Linked DNA regions of Homo sapiens: region 2 is linked to region 1. The links are contacts of gene promoters, found by promoter capture Hi-C in blood cells and fetal thymus (Javierre and others, 2016). All regions are on one chromosome and are shown on one strand. Each heading gives the region's core, a stretch centred on a gene start or on the middle of the fragment in contact. The rest is flanking DNA. Distances are from core to core; before and after follow the strand shown. Region 1 holds the start of SPIN1 (spindlin 1). Region 2 holds the start of LOC122394732.

Region 1 (4,552 bases), core at 1,478-3,977:
GGGGTTTCACCACGTTGGCCAGGCTGGTCTAGAACTCCTGACCTCAAGTGATCTGCCTGCCTCGGCCTCCCAAAGTGCTGGGATTACAGGCGTGAGCCATTGCAGCTGGCCGGCCTTTGTTTCATTTTAAAAAATTTTATTTATTTATTGTACAGTTGGGGTCTTGCTATGTTGCCCAGGCTGGTCCTGAACTCCTGGGCTCAAGCCATCCTACCACCTTGGCCTCCCAAAGTGCCGGTATTACAGGCATGAGCCACAATCCTGTGTATTTTTTTTTGAGATGGAGTTTGACTCCGTCACCCAGGCTGGAGTGCAGTGGCACAGTCTCGACTCACTGCAAACCCTGCCTCCTGGGTTCAAGCGATTCTCCTGCCTCAGTCTCTGGAGCAGCTGGGATTACAGGCGTGCACCACCACGCCTCGCTAATTTTTGTATTTTTAGCAGAGATGGGGTTTCACTGTGTTGGCCAGGCTGGTCTCAAACTCCTGACCTCAAGTGATCCACTTGCCTCGGCCTCCCAAAGTGCTGGGATTACAGGTGAGAGCCACTGTTCTTGGCCTTTTTAAAATTTTTTAAAATTTTATTTATTTTAGAGTTGGGGTCTTGCTATGTTGCCCAGGCTGGTCTCAAACTCCTGGGCTCAAGCCATCCTCCAGCCTCAGCCTCCCAAAGTGTTGGGATTACAGGTGTAAACCACAGTCCTGTGTATTCTCAATAGCTCCCAATGAGATCATCACCAGTGGCAAATTTTAAATCAGGGGTTGGGGATGGAGATGAAGGTGGGGCCACATATTTGACTTTGAAGACGTTTTCCGTGAATTTTGGAGGAGTGTGTGTGCTACTGGCATCTAGTGGGTGGAGGCCAGGGATGCTGTCAAACATCCTACAAAGCATGGAACAGACCCCACATGAAAGGATTATCCCATCCCAAAAGCCAACACTGCTGAGGTGGAGAAACCCAGGGATCTCGCCAATGAGATGAAATCTTCCAACCAGCAGACTTCTTGGCACCTACCTTCTTCCCATCCCTCTTTGTTTCGGAGATGACCCCACTGCAAGACATTAAACAGGCCAGGCGCGGTGGCTCACGCCTGTAATCCTAGCACTTCAGGAGGCCGAGGCCAGCGGATTGCTGGAGGCCAGGAGTTTGAGACCGGCCTGGCCAACATGGCGAAACCCCGTCTCTACTAAAAATATTTTTAAAAATTAGCTGGACATGGTGGTGCGCGCCTGTAATCCCAGCTACTCGGGAGGCTGAAATGTGAGGATTGCTTGAACCCAGGAAGCGGAGGTTGCAGTGGGCCGAGATCATGCCACTGCACTGCAGCCTGGGGAACAGAGTGAGACTCCGTCTAAAAAAACAAAAAAGACATTAAACACACAAATGAAAGTGAGTAATTTCTCAACACTTGGTAACTTGTAAGTACAGCGATACACTTTTATATCTCAGTTTTGAAATTAGCTCTCTAGTTGGCCTGTGAACGTCCCATGCCTGCCAAGTGTGTCATCTGAGACAAGCACTTCAATTTGTTTGAGCAGGCATCTATCAATCTTATTTGTTAGAAAAGGTGCCAGTGAAACCCCAAAGAGTATTGCTAACTAATAACTGTGCTGCAGTTTAGAGTGTTCAAGGTGCTTTCCAGTAACATGTTCTGGAATTTGATCTGACAACGCTTTGGGAGGCGGTTTATTACGATGAGGCTGCGCTGTCGCACTCGAGGAACCAGGTCAGTGACCTGCTCCAGGACACGGGACTGGCGGGGAGGGGAGAGCGCCTGGACTCAGCCTCCAAGTCTCGCACTCGACTCTGCAGGAGTAAAAACTATTCTTGATCCTACCTCTCTCCCTTCTGCAAACAAGCAACAAAATGCTGAAAAGGCATCTTAACTGAAACGGAAGTCAAATGAATTCGCGTGCGATCATGGGAATTTTTGGCTCCTAACCTTGCGAGTAGAGCTGGGTGAGTTCCATTTGTGGTGGGGGAGTGGAAACAGGTTTCTGGGCTTGCAGAAGCCACATCCCGTCCCCACACAACCTAGGACAGGCCAGGTACTTGTAGGTGAGGCTCCGGGGCTCCAGCTAACCTGAGCTACCTGGGCTGGGCTTTGTGCGGGGAGGCAGCAAGCGGGGTGAGCCGGCGACGACGCCGGCCTCTACGCAGTGCGGTGGTGAAGACGTCTCTTCCAGGGAGTCACAGGAAGCAAATCCATCCTTTTAAAGGGCTCGCGTCCCGCGGCCCTGAACCGGCGCGCTGGAGCAGTAATGCGACGTTCTCCGAGGTTCAAGGCTCACGGCCCAGCCCTGTGATCCAGTTTCCTCAGTCTTCGCGGTGTGCACCACTCAGGACGACTTGCGGCTTACGTCCAGGACAAAGGGGGCTTGTCCTTTCTTCAACGTCCTACTGCGCAAAAACGAAGCCCTTCTCAGGCTGCCTGCCTTCCAGGAAAAGCTGCGCCCCCTCAGGAACCTGTGCCCCGCGCGCCTGCCGCCGCCCATTCCCGGCGCGCACCTGGCAGTCCCGGGCTCGAGCCCCGCCCTGCCGCCAGCCAGGTGAGAGGGGCCAGGCCCCGCCCTCGCCGGCCCCGCCCCGCCCCACTGCGCCTGCGCAGTCGGCCGTCGGCGCCAGGCGCCGGGGCGGCGCGGCCGTCGCAGTTCGGCGGGCGCAGTGCGCGTGCGCCCTGACTGTTGGGGGGCGGGCGGCGTCCGCGGCGAGGGAGCGGGGGCGGGGAGGCGCCGTCTGGCTCAGGCTGGGGCCGGCGGGAGCGCGAACGAGCGACGGCGGAACCCGTGGGCCTGTGGACTGCAGCCTCGGCGGTCAGCAGGTGAGGCCCGCGCAGGGCGGGCGTGGGTCGTGAGGGAGTGCGGGCTGCGGGCGGGCCAGCGGTGCGGCGGTCTGCCCGGGGGCGCAGGTGAGCGCGGCCCGCGCGGGGCCCGGCGGAGCATTGTCCAGCGGGCGGCGCCCGCATAGCGCCCCCTGCCGGCTGGGCCGCGGCGGGGACCCGGGCTGGGCGGGCCTGGGCCTCGGGGCGGGCGCGCGCTCCTTTGTTCGCCGGCCCCTACTCCTCCGTGCCCCCATCCCCGCCGCCCCCCGCCAACATGGCCGCCACCCTCTCGTCCCCAGTTCCCCGGCCGCCGCCGGCCCCTTAGCGCGCGCTTTGTTTGGAGCCGGGCGGGGAGGCCGGCGGGCAGGGGGCGGCGGCGCTGCGCAGTCGGGCGCGGGGAGGGGGCGCTGCGCCAGAATGCAGGCGGGGAGGGGGAACGTTGCATAATCCCGGGCCGGCGACGGGGGCGGGGCGGGGGGAGGGGCGGGACCCCGGCGCGACGGGTCGGGTCACCCCGGGGACGCGGGCCTGCCCTGGGGCCACCCCTCCCAGGCCCGGGGGATGGCCGCGGACCTTGTAAGTTGCAGGCTCCGCGGTTCGCGGCGCCGGAACGCCCACCGGCCAGTCCTCGCGCCCGCGCAGCCCCTTTCCTGATGCGCCGTCTCTTCGCCGCCCTCCGTGGGGGCGCGGCGAACGGGTTGCGTGCTCTGGAGAGAGACAGGCACTTTTCCTCTCCATCGTGAGTGACCTTGGGTGTATTCGTCAAGGAATGTGTTGAAACGAATTGTGCGATGCGGGAACTGCGCAGCGCCTCGGGTTTGGCTTTCTCGAGCATTTTATTGCATTGATTGTGCGTTCTCGATTTTACAGAGGTTCGTTTTGAGTAATGGCTTCAGTAATGTCATCGTATACGCATTTCAAAGTTTGTTTATGGAATTGTTTTTACATTTATTCTCTTTTTACTTATAATTTTTGAATCAGATTTTGTGTTTTGGAGAGATTTTCCGTACGTGGTGGAAGTGTTTTCACTCATGGTAAATATGGATTGTTTGGCAATTTTATCACGTTAATCACAAAACAATACCAGGAACATTTAAATGTCTTAAAGGATTTCACTCTACATGACTTGTGCCAGAGACGACACACGTACCAAAACGCGATTACCTGTCTTAACTTTTTTTCTATTGGAATTTTCTGGAAGGAATTCCATGCAATCCGAAAGGATTAATGGAGGGTACAGTAATTGCTTTCTACATCGCTTTTGTTAAGCAGTGAAAATTAAACTTGGAGATTTATACCTGGATATACTGAGTTTTTTTTAACACTCTTTTGAAGTGAAATTTTGGAAAGGGCAGGTGAAATGAGGCTTCTTCCAACCTCCCCACTCTCCCCCCTCAGCTTTAGTTAAAAGGCAAACACCAAAATATTGTAGTACCTGGTAATTTACAGAACGTTCGTTATCAGATTTGATAATTATATATTAAGGTTGTAAAGAATGTGTATGCCAGAATTATAGGTAGTAGATCCTAGATTCTTAGGAAAAATAGTTTCTTTATAATCTTTTGAGTAGTGAAATGGTTACTTTTACAATGGTTATGAACTGGGTCAAGGCAAAAGGGCCACTATATGTCTTCAGTCATCTTTCTATGCCTGAAATCCAGGAAACAGTGAAAATGGATGTTCCCTGGAACAGCCATTGCGATGCCATATGTTGGTCATTGGTGTCCTTA
Region 2 (4,552 bases), core at 1,406-3,905, 430 kb before region 1:
ATTCCAAACCACAGGAGAATCATTTTCCAGAGACATTTACAGGCAGCCTCACTGTCCTGTCTTGAACATCCTCCACCAAAGTGTGAACACAGGTGGCATGGGCTTCGTAACGAATAAGAGCGCCTTCAAAGCAGGAGATTCCCTGTACCTGCGAAGGGCCTTCGTGAACAACCTTGGAGAGGAAAGGAGAACCAGGATTCAGATCCAAAGCATCCAGAAGGCTTTAGACATCCAGATCAGGGAGATTGATAGAGAAAAAGCAGCCCTGAAGAGATTTTTGGTAAAGCTTCACAAGACAACTGGCTATTTTCCTCAAAAGCCATTGTGGTGACTGATGCTGTGCCACCATAGGGGACGAGTTCATCTGAAACATCCAATACAGACAGAACACACCTGGGTCTCCTTCTGTATCTCTCTGTGACCCAAGAAAGCAGTAGAAGTGGCTACTGGGACAAGCCAAAAAAGAAAAAAAAGGACTAGATAATTGAGGACACAAATGGACTGCCTCTAAAATAATAAACAAAACCTCCTACAAAAGAGAGAATAATGCGCTGATTTTTTTCCCAGCTGATTCTATTTCTTTACAACTTGAGGTGGTAATATGCAGTGCACGTGTTATTTTCTTACAGATTCTCCTGGAGGCAAGAATAAAGCTGAGCTATTTTAGAGATCTTTCAGATACTGATCATGAAATACATATTATATTTGCCTTAATCCTGTTCTCTTCTCATTGATATCATTTTCAATTATTTTCTACAGTTTTAATAGCATGAGTAAATAATAATAAATATTAAAATTAAGGTGAAAATAATAGTGGGAAATACATGGAATTTTGTATCTATAAGAAAACTCAATTTAAATGTAGGTTTTCCCATGTATTAGTTGTATGTTCCTAGACTTAAAAACTCATTTTTTAAATTCAACATGAGGATAATACCTATATTAAAATATTGTTTTTAAGGATTAAATAAGATAACATATATATAGGGCATATTGCAGCCACCCCTAAAATGGTACTAGCTCTTGTGATGACTGTTGTTTCCATTAATATTTTTATTACTGTGTAATAGAGGTCAAGTTCTGTTCCCAGCTCTTTCCAGGATTGCTAGGCAAATCCGTTTCCATTCGTAGGCATTCATTTTTTTCTGAGGCTATAATATGAGAGTCAGACTAGATAATGTCCACAGGCCCTTTCAATCTTAAGTTCTTTGATACTATAACTCCATGGTTATACTTTGAAATGTGTTTGCAGCATCCTAGAGAAAAAAAATCTAACAATCAGAATGCACACACCAAGGCGACTAGAGGCTTGTATATTCCTACTTAACCATGACGTATCTACCACCCTCATGTTTAAATATACTTGTAATTCAAGTACAAAATATCTTAGTGGCCTCATTTTTTTTTTTTTTTTTTTGAGACGGAGTCTTGCTCTGTCGCCCAGGCCGGAGTGCAGTGGTGCAATCTCAGCTCACTGCACCTCTGCCTCCTGGGTTCAAGTGATTCTCCTGCCTCAGCATCCCGAGTAGCTGAGATTACAGGCACGTGCCACCATGCCTGCCTAATTTTTTTGTATTTTTAGTAGAGACAGGGTTTCACTGCATTAGCCAGGGTGGTCTCGATCTCCTGACCTCATGATCTGCCCACCTCGGCCTCCCAAAATGCTGGGATTACAGGCGTGAGCCACTGTGCCCGGCCCAGCCTCTCCTTTACACACACACACACATACACACCATGAATAGATACATATATACATGTGTATACACACACATATGTATTATATGTATGTGGGCGGCAGGATCAAGGGGGATGTGGTTAGGCTGTGGGTTTTCTATGAGGGAGAAGGGGAAGGTAAAAGTGTCGAGTGGTTTCTTGGCCATGTGCAGCCATATCAGTGCTTCTGTGTACCTGAAAACTGTAATTACGTTGTGGCCAGTGTGGTCACGGGCAGAGGTCGCAGCCTTTCTTGTTGATAGTCCCTCATTGGTTGTGAATTTAAATATTGTGTAGTTATGCCCTAGGGGGTGCAGAGTTCATATAATGTAATTAGGACTTGGGACACCATCTTGGCTTTTTTTGTTTTTGTTTTTTGAGACAGGGTCACGCTCTGTCACCCAGGCTGGAGTACAGTGGTGCAATCTCAGCTCAGTGCAACCTCTGCCTCCTGGGCTCAAGCCATCCTCCCACCTAAGCCTCCTGAGTAACTAGACCTCATGCCACCATGCCTAATTTTTGTATGTTTACTAGAGACGAGGTTTCATCATGTTGCCCAGGCAGGTCTTGAACTCATGAGCTCAAGCAATCCACCCACCTTGCCTCCCAAAGCGCCAGTATTACAGGCGTGAGCCACCATCCCTGGCTAGAGGCAGCATTTTGATGACTCAGGTCACCATTGTCATCTACATCGTTTCAGTAGCCCCCGTTTTAAAAGCTCATTATATCTTTCTATGATACCCACTGCTGTTACTTTGTAATGTTACTTTGTAATACCCATCGTTGCATTTGCTTTGTGGTACAAGAAGAGCCTTGATCTGACTGTGTAACTTGTGGCACACCCAAAGGCTGTAAAAGCTGTTTTGGTAACCCATTGTGACATTAGTAGAGGTTCCTGCCTCACATGGGTAAGCAAATGGATGGCCTGTGTAGATATCCCTTAGCATATTCATTGGCTCCTGTCACTGTAGGGGGAGGCCCTTTGAAGTTGATTTGCCAGTTCTGATAATGGCCTTCCTGTGAATTTCTCCTCCCAGGCAGTGAACCCAGTATCTAAATTTCTAGCATGGTACAGTCCCTAATAACCTTGCATAAATGTGTCTCTGCTGGGTTGACTCCTCTGTTAATAATTCCTTTTTGACCGGGCATGGTGACTCACGCCTGTAATCCCAGCACTTTGGGAGGCAGAGGCGGGTGGATCACTTGAGGTCAGGAGTTCTAGACCAGCCTGGGCAACATGGTGAAACCCTCGTCTCTACTAAAAATACTAAAATTAGCCAGGTGTGGTGGCACGTGCCTGTAGTCCCAGCTACTTGGCAGGCTGAGGCACAAGAATTGCTTCAACCCAGGAGGCAGAGGTTGCAGTGAGCCGATATTGCACCACTGCACTTCAGCCTAGGTGACACTGCAAGACTCCATCTCAAAGAAAAATAAAAAATAATAATTCATTTTTGTAACCCCATGATGCCCAAATGCCCTGACCTCTCCTCTTACATGCCCTTGCATGGGATAGGGTAGCTCATCCCAAAGCTCTAGGACTCTGCCTCCTTCAAGAGGCTTATCTGCTGGTATGCTATGGTTAGTTCATCAGCTTTGGTGTTGTGTCATGCCTCTTCCATGTCTTGTCTGGTATGAGCCAAGGTACGGTGCATCAAGGTAGGCAGAATGGGAGCCACTGTAAGTGTTAGTGCAGCATCTTGGCTCTCGAGTAAATACAAATTAATACCAGGCCAAACAGTAATTTTTCTCAGGCAAGTTTTAATGGGCTTGAGCTCAATCAAAGCAAGGGAGCAGTGCCCAGGAAAAGGACCCCAGTGCTACAGCCAAAAAGGGCTCAGCTCTTGTCATTTTAAGGAAGCTGAGGCAGAGAAAGGAATGACATAGAAGCTGTGAGAGTTAAAGAAAGAGGAAAGAAACACAAAAAGTGGCTCAACAGTCAAAGACAGGTTTATTTTGGAGAATGAACCTGAGAGGGGTTTCTGGCCGATTTCAGTCAGGAGCACTCTCTCTTACAGACTAAGAGTATTTAAGTGTTTTAGGGCAAGATAGCTTATCACAGGCTTGGAATGTTTCTGTGTGGAGGAGAAGTTTATTGCGGGGTTTGGAATGTCTCCAGCTGGAGGGGAGGTTATCTCGGGGCTGGCATGTGTCTGGTTGGGGAGGGGTTTATCTTAGGGGTTGGAATGTTTCTGGTTGGAGATGTCATTTGTGATTTATGGTCATGCTGACCTTAGCTGATGCCCTTTGGATTTAGGTGGTTTCTGATCAAGGGGAATTTTAAAATGGTGGTGCTTGTCCAAGATGGTGATGTTCCTGCTCTGTCAGAAGCCTGTTTAGGCAGTTTTCTTTGTGCCTGTACAGTGGGGTGTCATGCCCTAACATACATTGCATAATTAGAAAATGGTAGATAAGCCCCAATTTGGGCAGAGATTTTCGTATTACAGTGAGATTATGAGGAAAACTCAGTGAAAGGTCAGTGCTGAAGTCCATCTTGTCTTCAGCCAACTGGATCTGGTCCAATTCTCATAGGGAATGCCAGAGTTTTGTTTTAGTAAACTTGGAATATGGTCAGGTTCTTATCAGGAATGCTAGAGTCCGGCTTTTAGCAACCTTGGGAGACATCACTTAAGGCAATAAACAGTTTCTTCTATTTGTGGTTAAGAATTCAGCCTGATCAGCTAAGTTAGGAGAGGCTTCCCTTCTGCTATGTGACTTAGGTCAGCTTGTTAAGGGAGGCAAGAAGGTAGGGGAGGGAATATGCCTGGACATGTGAGCCCCATGAGCCTCGGTCTACAAAGACCAAGTCTCTTTCCTATACTGTCTCATAATGATTATTTTC

The links. Contacts are between HindIII fragments. The CHiCAGO score rates a contact against its expected background, and 5 or more counts as called.
Region 2: a fragment that was not itself captured here is called in contact with the fragment with the promoter of SPIN1 in region 1 in 8 of 17 cell types (monocytes, non-activated CD4 T cells, total CD8 T cells and 5 more); the score reaches 8.0 in monocytes.

The regions. Positions count from the first base shown.
Region 1 is chr9:88,385,717-88,390,268 of GRCh38, forward strand. SPIN1 (spindlin 1) reads left to right here and starts at 2,728. Exons shown (of 6, transcript NM_006717.3): 1 at 2,728-2,822. It overlaps LOC124902204 (a long non-coding RNA gene), which reads right to left and starts at 3,483. Exons shown (of 2, transcript XR_007061652.1): 1 at 3,396-3,483; 2 at 1-2,401. RefSeq lists an enhancer at 1,544-2,403 and a silencer at 2,481-3,380. The HindIII fragment of the contact is 9,781 bases long and covers 1-4,552 here.
Region 2 is chr9:87,956,170-87,960,721 of GRCh38, forward strand. It overlaps LOC122394732, which reads left to right and starts at 45. Exons shown (of 1, transcript NM_001395917.1): 1 at 45-714. The coding sequence starts at 98. The coding sequence ends at 331. The HindIII fragment of the contact is 4,743 bases long and covers 285-4,552 here.